Regions from separate parts of the Homo sapiens genome. Here region 1 is linked to region 2. Evidence: promoter capture Hi-C in 16 types of primary human blood cells and fetal thymus (Javierre and others, 2016). All regions are on one chromosome and are shown on one strand. Each heading gives the region's core, a stretch centred on a gene start or on the middle of the fragment in contact. The rest is flanking DNA. Distances are from core to core; before and after follow the strand shown.

Region 1 (3,761 bases), core at 560-3,059, 1.2 Mb before region 2:
CTCAGATCACTGCAACCTTCGCCTCCCGGGTTCAAGCAATTCTCCTGCCTCAGCCTCCCAAGTAGCTGGGATTACAGGCACGTGCCACCACACCCGACTAATTTTGTATTTTTTATAGAGACGGGGTTTCACCATGTTGTCCAGGCTGGTCTTGAACTCCTGACCTCAAGTGATCTGCCCACCTCAGCCTCCCAAAGTGCTGGGATTACAGGCGTCAGCCACCATGCCCAGCCCCGTAATTCAGATTTGAAATGGGTTTTCTCTCTTTTTTGCCTTTCAGAACGTGTCTCTGACTTGCATTTGAGATTTGACACAAACTCAGTTACAAACTTTGAAAATTTGTGGTTTCAAATAATGAACTGTACAAAATGTTAAAAACCAGCTGGGCTCAGTGGCTCACGACTGTAATCCCAGCACTTTGAGAGGCCAAGGCGGTCGGATCACCTGAGGCCAGAAGTTCGAGACCAGCTTGGCCAACATGAAGAAACCCCGTCTCTAATAAAAATACAAAAATTAGTCGGGCTTGGTGGTGTGTGCCTGTAATCCCAGCTACTTGGGAGGCTGAGGCAGGAGAATCGCTTGAACCCGGGAGGCAGAGGCTGCAGTAAGCTGACATCGTGCCACTGTGCTCCAGCCTGGGCCACAGAGTGAGACTCTGTCTCAAAAAAAAAATTTTTTTTGGCTGTTTATTCAAATATCAGGACAATACTGAACCAAGTGTTGAAGCTTAGAGTTTAAGATGGACAATACTGAACTAAGTTTGAAGCTTAGCTAGTTCAGTACTGTTCTGTCATCTGAATAAACAGCTGTTTTTACTGAACCTAACAATACAAGGCTAATCCAAACGGTTTTGTATATACTTTAGAAATGTGAATAAATGTAAAAGAACTAATTTCCATTGTGCTTTACTATGGTGCACAACATCTGTGACTTGAATACTAATCGGAAAAAGAATGCCAATAATTATTATAAAGTCTACTAATTTTAAGAATGTGTTTCATCATAGTTTAGTAAGAATAGCAGAGATTGATATGACTGTTTTTGTATATGCATTCTGGGAACTCCCATAATTGAATACAACTTCAAAAGGGCTAAAGCCCAGTGACCTCAAAACGAGGTTCACAGAACAGTACATAATGATGAAACCTGAAGCAATAAAACACCAATGAACTGAAATGTAAACATTCATGCTGTTAGGACATGGCATTTTCATTTTTCATTTTGTTTTGGACTGTTACTGGGCTTTCCTCAGACACCTTCCTTTCATATATTAAACTCTGTCTTTCCAGAAAAGCTTCTGGAATTGTTTTTGTTTTTTGTTTTGGTCTCAAGGGCATTAGGGGAGAACCTAACAGGCTGGGGGCGAGCCCCACATAGTTCAGCACACCGTTCCCCGCGGCAACACGCTACTTCTGAACGCAGGAGCGACTCTCCGTCCGGGCTCCCTCCAGGAGAATGGAGGCAAATGTACATTCGAGGGTCTCAATACCTGGAATTCGAAACGTCTCAGTTCCTCCGCCTTAGTTCCTCTTTTCCCGGGTTCGGAGGCCACCTGTGCAGCAGGGCACACCTGCCACTCTCATCGCCCTCGGAGCCGGCAACCAGCCGACAGCCGGCTCCAGCCCCGGGGAACTGGAGGCTGCGCGGAAGGAAGGAGAGTCGGGAGCGCGGCCGCTCGCGGGCTGGCTCAGGGGACGCCGAGAGGAGGCGCCGGCGCGCGCGGGCGGGGTGCGCGCGCCGCCGCCGCCGCGTCACCAGCGTGCGGCACGTGCCCATGTTTACGTCCCTCGTGGAGCCGCCGACGTCAGCAGTCGAATGGCAACATTGTGGCGATGCTGAGGCGCAGAGTTTAGGAGACGGGTTCATCAGTCAGGCCGGCTCCGGGCTTTCTGCAGCAGCACCAGGGGCGGGGGCGGGGATCTTGACCTGGGCGAGCGACCGGGACGCATACAGCGCCGGCCTGACCCCGCGGGACCCGCGCCTCACCACCGGAGCGCCGCAGACGCAGCTCCACGGCCTCGCGCGGGGGGCGGCGGGCGGCCGCGAGGCGCTGCGGCAGCGCGGAGCTTGTAAACAGATCCGGCCGCAGGTGACCATGTGAACTACCTGCTCCCGGGACGCTTATTGTCCTTCTCTCGATCCGCGCCACAAAGGAGCTCGGCGGTCGGGGCGCGGAGGGACAGGCGAACGAGCCGGGAGAGCCGGCCGGCGCACTAAGATGGCTGAAGGCGCCCGGCGAGGGTGAGCGGGGGGCGCGGCGCAGCCAGCGGGGAGTCCTCGGGCGGGCCGGGCCGGCGGCCCTTCCCCGCGGCGAGAAGCCGGAGCCACCATGTCGTTCGCGCTGGAGGAGACGCTCGAGTCGGACTGGGTGGCTGTGCGGCCCCATGTGTTCGACGAGCGCGAGAAACACAAATTCGTCTTTATTGTGGCCTGGAACGAGATTGAGGGCAAGTTTGCCATAACCTGCCACAACCGGACGGCCCAGAGGCAGAGGAGCGGCTCCCGGGAGCAAGCGGGGGCGCGAGGGGGCGCCGAGGCCGGCGGAGCTGCGTCCGACGGGAGCCGCGGGCCCGGCAGCCCGGCGGGCAGGGGTCGGCCCGAGGCCACTGCCTCTGCAACTCTGGTTAGGAGCCCCGGGCCCCGGCGGAGCTCGGCCTGGGCGGAGGGCGGCTCTCCTCGGAGCACTCGCAGCCTTCTGGGGGACCCGCGGCTGCGGAGTCCTGGCAGCAAAGGGGCGGAGAGTCGTCTTAGGAGCCCAGTGCGGGCCAAACCCATCCCGGGTCAGAAAACATCTGAAGCCGACGATGCGGCGGGGGCAGCCGCTGCAGCAGCCCGGCCGGCGCCCAGAGAGGCCCAGGTGTCCTCTGTACGGATAGTGAGCGCCTCTGGGACGGTCTCCGAGGAGATAGAGGTGCTGGAAATGGTGAAGGAGGACGAGGCACCTCTGGCGCTCTCGGACGCGGAGCAGCCGCCGCCCGCCACCGAGCTGGAGTCTCCGGCCGAAGAGTGCAGCTGGGCCGGACTGTTTTCTTTCCAGGACCTGCGCGCCGTGCACCAGCAGCTGTGCTCGGTGAACTCGCAGTTGGAGCCGTGCCTGCCGGTGTTCCCCGAGGAACCTTCGGGCATGTGGACTGTGCTGTTTGGGGGCGCCCCCGAGATGACCGAGCAGGAAATCGACACTCTGTGTTACCAGCTCCAGGTCTACCTGGGCCACGGCCTGGACACCTGCGGCTGGAAGATCCTCTCCCAGGTGCTCTTCACCGAGACCGATGATCCCGAGGAGTATTACGAAAGCCTCAGCGAGCTGCGGCAGAAGGGCTACGAAGAAGTGCTTCAGCGGGCCAGGAAGCGCATCCAGGAGGTGAGTGAGTGAGCTCCTAGTCTGGGCTCTACTGGTCGCTTTTGGTTTACTGGCCAAACCAAAGGCTGGAGCCTCGGTGTCGGGTGTGCGCAGTAGGACGGTTGTTTTTCTGGACAAGCGGAAACCAAGAGGGGTTCCTGATCTACCTTGCCCTTCATCCCTCTCGGTGGCTGCTTAATTGACTCTCTGAAGGACCTTCGTCTTTATTTCCTCCCCCATTTATCAAAAGTAGTAAGTGCGCTCTGTGTACTACTCAGTACTGGTAATGCGCAATTAAAGCCACTAAGAAAAGTGTTCTGTAAGCATGGGCTACCTGAGCATTTTTCTACCCCTAAAGCTCTTCCAGCAATAACTGCCCAGATGTCAACTCTTCTTTGTCCTTGTCACCTTTATTTAAAAT
Region 2 (3,608 bases), core at 423-2,922:
CCAAGGTTAAAGATTAAGTATCTTTCAAAGATCAGGAACTATAGTTGTAAACTGCAGATTTAAGATGCGAACCCTGATTCTCAAATCTTTCATCACAAATCACATGTGGCTGGAATACTCGAAAAATTATAATTCTTGCAATTTTTTTTTTTTCTTTTTTGAGACGGAGCCTTGCTCTGTCACCCAGGCTGGAGTGTGGTGGCTCGATCTTGGCTCACTGTGACCTCTGCCTCCTGGGTTCATTCAATGGTCCTGATTGTCCTGCCTCAGCCTCCCAAGTAGCTGGGATTACAGGCGCCCGCCACCACACCCAGCTAATTTTTGTATTTTTAGTAGAGACGGAGTTTCACCATGTTGGCCAGATTGGTCTCGAACTCCTGACTTCAGGTGATCCGCCTGCCTCGGCCTCCCAAAGTGCTGGGGTTACAGGCGTGAGCCACTGCGCCCGGCCAATTCTTGCGATTTTTGAAAGATCAGTATGAACTGTGAGCTGTTTAACCTTTGAGGAACTGCTTTTTCCCTGTATCTGTCTGTATCTGATCCCACATGTATGTCTCTTCCCTTGTTTTTATTTTTTATTTTTTTAGAGACACGGTCTGGTTCTGTTGCTCAGGCTGGAATGCAGTGTTGCCATCAGAGCTCACTGCAGCCTTGACCTCCTGGGCTTAAGTGATCCTCCCACTTCAGACTCCCAGCCAGTAGCTGGGACTACAGGCACGCGCCAACACGCCTGGCTAATTTTTTCATTTTCATTTTTAGTAGAGACAGGGTCTTGCTATGTTGCCCAGGCCTGTCTGGAACTCTTGACTTCAAGCGATCCTCCCGCCTCGGCCTCCCAAAGTGCTGGGATGACAGGCGTGAGCCACCGCGCCGGGTCTCATTTAAATTTATAGGAAACTTGTGGTAAAAATAGCAAAACTCAACAAGCAAATATACATCAAGTGAGTGACATTTTATTTCTACATCAGATAAGTCAGCTTTTGCTTTTAGACAGGGAGACAGCTGTTCTACCAGCTGCTTTAAAATAAAAATGCAGAACTAACGCAGCGAAGGGAAGGAAAGTGTGGCTGGGAATGTCCAGTCAGCTGGAGGGGCTTGGAGCTCGGCGTTGGCTGGGAGCATTTTTATTGCTGCCGGGAGGAGGAAGGGGAAGCGGGGGAAGCGGGGGAGGCGGGGGGGCAGCGTGTTGTAAAATCAGTTTGAAGTAAACAAAAAGTTATGTTTTCCGAGGGGCCAGCAGCGCGGAGAGCAGGCCTAGCCCGCTGCCGGGAAGGCGGGTCTGTCCAGTAGAGACCGGAACGCCGCGCAGGCTCAGCAAAGGGCTAAGGCTGGAGCCGGGGAAGCTGCCTCTAGGTTAGCGAAGGGTAAAGGAAGTCAGACACTGACGCGAGTGGCCTCCCGATCCCGCAGTCGAGTGGAGAACCGAGTCCCGACCTAAGGTCGAATCATCAGGCGTCCCCGTCACCCAACAACCCACTCAGGCACTTCCGGTAAGAAATCTAGTGCCCTTGGCTCGGAACCTGCGTCGTAGTGCGCAAGCGCCCCGGGCCTGGAGACGGCCGCGGATGCCGAGGGAGGGGGCGTGTGAGCCGAAGAGGAAAGCGTCCTCTGCGCCTGCGCTCTCTGCGCTGCCCGGTGGGGCGGGGAAAGAAGCCCTGAGCCGGGATCTGGCACTCCCAGGACTCCCGGCCGGGGTAGCTCTTCACTCCTCAGCGCGACGTCGTGTCGAGTTCCCAAAAAGCTCCGCAGGGGCTGTAGGGAGGTAAGAGCCCCCCGTGACCGGTCGTCTCGGCCTCCCCTCAGCCCTGCTGTTCCCACAGGGGGGCGGGGTGACCGCTGGACCCGCCGACCTGGGCGCTGGGTCTGGCCCTCTTCCTCTGGGGACAGAGCCTGGGCCCCGACCGATTCCTTTTCCGAGCCCCCGGAGCTGGCCGGGGAACCCTGGCCCTCCAATCTGATGTCCCCTCCTGGAGCCTGAAGGGCCAGACCGGACTGGACCGGGAGGGCAATCACGGCGGCTGTTTGCCCGGTTCCCCGCTCCCGGGCCGCCGGAGTGTTCGGCGCTCCTGGGGGAGAGACCCCAGCGGACGGAGGGAGAAGCGCCCTGGCGCCGCCGTCCCGCCTGGGGAGGGGCTGCGACTGCGGAGGGGACTGTGGTTCTTCAGGAGTGGCAGAGGCTCGGTCCCCGCAGAGGAGTCTCATCGCCGCCGGTGCTCTCGCACTGTCCATTCCCGCACCCATGCATTTTCTCTTGGTTAGAGACCAGAAGGATGCAGTGGCCGTCTTTCCCGCTGCCTTTCCTTTGGTACTTTTGAGAACTCCAAAAGAGGACCTTATTTTTAACTCTTATTTGTACTATCGTGATTGCAAATATTATGTTCCAGACTAAGGATGTTCTTTCTTATTAGTTTGACTTGTATGAAAACCAGTCCATACATTTGATATTAAGTTAATCTTTTCAATTCAAAAAATAGGCACTTTGTTGATTCAATCAGATTCCTCCATTTATTCACTTGAGCTTGTCGTCTCTTGAGTTGGCGGGAGTTTAATGGTTTAATCCAGTAGAACTATATATAATTTTTCGCCTAATTTCTTCCTTTTTTTCCTCTCCTGGATATTAAACCGCATGCTTAGTGGCAAAAATTGAAAAAATAGAATAAAGAATAAGGAAAAATGATCAATCATAATTCCACCATGTAATAGTAATCAATTACTTATAATATTTTGACTTTTTTCCTTTGAGTCTTTTTTTCCCCTGTGCATTTTCTTGAGATGAGATTTTATATCGTTGGATTGTCTGCTTTCCTTGATTTAAATTACGTTGTAAGCATTTCCCCATGTTTTTAAAAAGCTTCATAAAAATGACTTCTTGATTATACATGAGCAAAGTATCTTTTGAAACAGTTATATTACAGATAAAGCCAAATCCGCATTAATTATCCTCAATCATAATGTTACATGATAGAATAGTGCTACAGTTCATTTAACATTATGATTGGGGATAATTACGCTTAAAAATTATTGAGGACCAATAGAGTTTTTGGTTCCTAATGCTGCAGTATATTTACCATTTTGGAAATTAAAACTCAGAAAATTGAAAATGTTTTATTCATTTAAAAATCACAGACTCATGTATTAAATAATTTTTTAGTGAAAAGTAACCATTTTCTAAAACAAAACTTAGAAGAGGAGCGTGGCATTGTTTCAAATTTTTGCGAATCACTTTAATGTCTGGCATTATAGAAGACAGCTGGATTTTCATGTTTGCTTCTGTTCAGTCTGTTGTGCTATCTGGTTTAGGTTGAAGCATATGAAGAAAACACCAGCCTTGAACAGATACGTAGCAGGAAAAGCGAGGATCTTACAAGCCTGCTGAAAGGCTCCTGGGGACATCCAGGGGTCCTGAGACCACAGTTTGAGAAAGCTGATTTAACCATTTTTGGATTGGTGGGCTGTTAGGTTGTTTAAAATTTTACACTGTTACAACCCTTGCAACAGTGAAAGTTCTTTGTGATGTTTTCTGGTGTATGCGTGCTAGTGTTTTTTCTGTAAGTAGAATTGCTAGGTCATAGAGTTTTGCTTTTTTTTAAGTTTGTTAAACACATTAC

The links. The method cuts DNA at HindIII sites, captures the fragments that hold promoters and counts their contacts. A CHiCAGO score of 5 or more calls a contact.
Region 1: the fragment with the promoter of JMY here is called in contact with the fragment with the promoter of ZFYVE16 in region 2 in 1 of 17 cell types (fetal thymus); the score reaches 5.8 in fetal thymus.

What each region holds. Positions count from the first base shown.
Region 1 is chr5:79,234,322-79,238,082 of GRCh38, forward strand. It overlaps JMY (junction mediating and regulatory protein, p53 cofactor), which reads left to right and starts at 1,810. Exons shown (of 11, transcript NM_152405.5): 1 at 1,810-3,361. The coding sequence starts at 2,330. It overlaps LOC124901011 (a long non-coding RNA gene), which reads right to left and starts at 1,702. Exons shown (of 2, transcript XR_007058836.1): 1 at 1,490-1,702. RefSeq lists silencers at 1,712-1,761, 1,802-1,851, 1,882-2,321, 2,492-2,761, 3,045-3,339 and enhancers at 2,264-2,900, 2,952-3,371. The HindIII fragment of the contact is 5,598 bases long and covers 1,293-3,761 here.
Region 2 is chr5:80,406,392-80,409,999 of GRCh38, forward strand. It overlaps ZFYVE16 (zinc finger FYVE-type containing 16), which reads left to right and starts at 1,673. Exons shown (of 19, transcript NM_001284236.3): 1 at 1,673-1,762. RefSeq lists an enhancer at 1,635-2,433 and a silencer at 2,154-2,273. The HindIII fragment of the contact is 4,043 bases long and covers 1-2,849 here.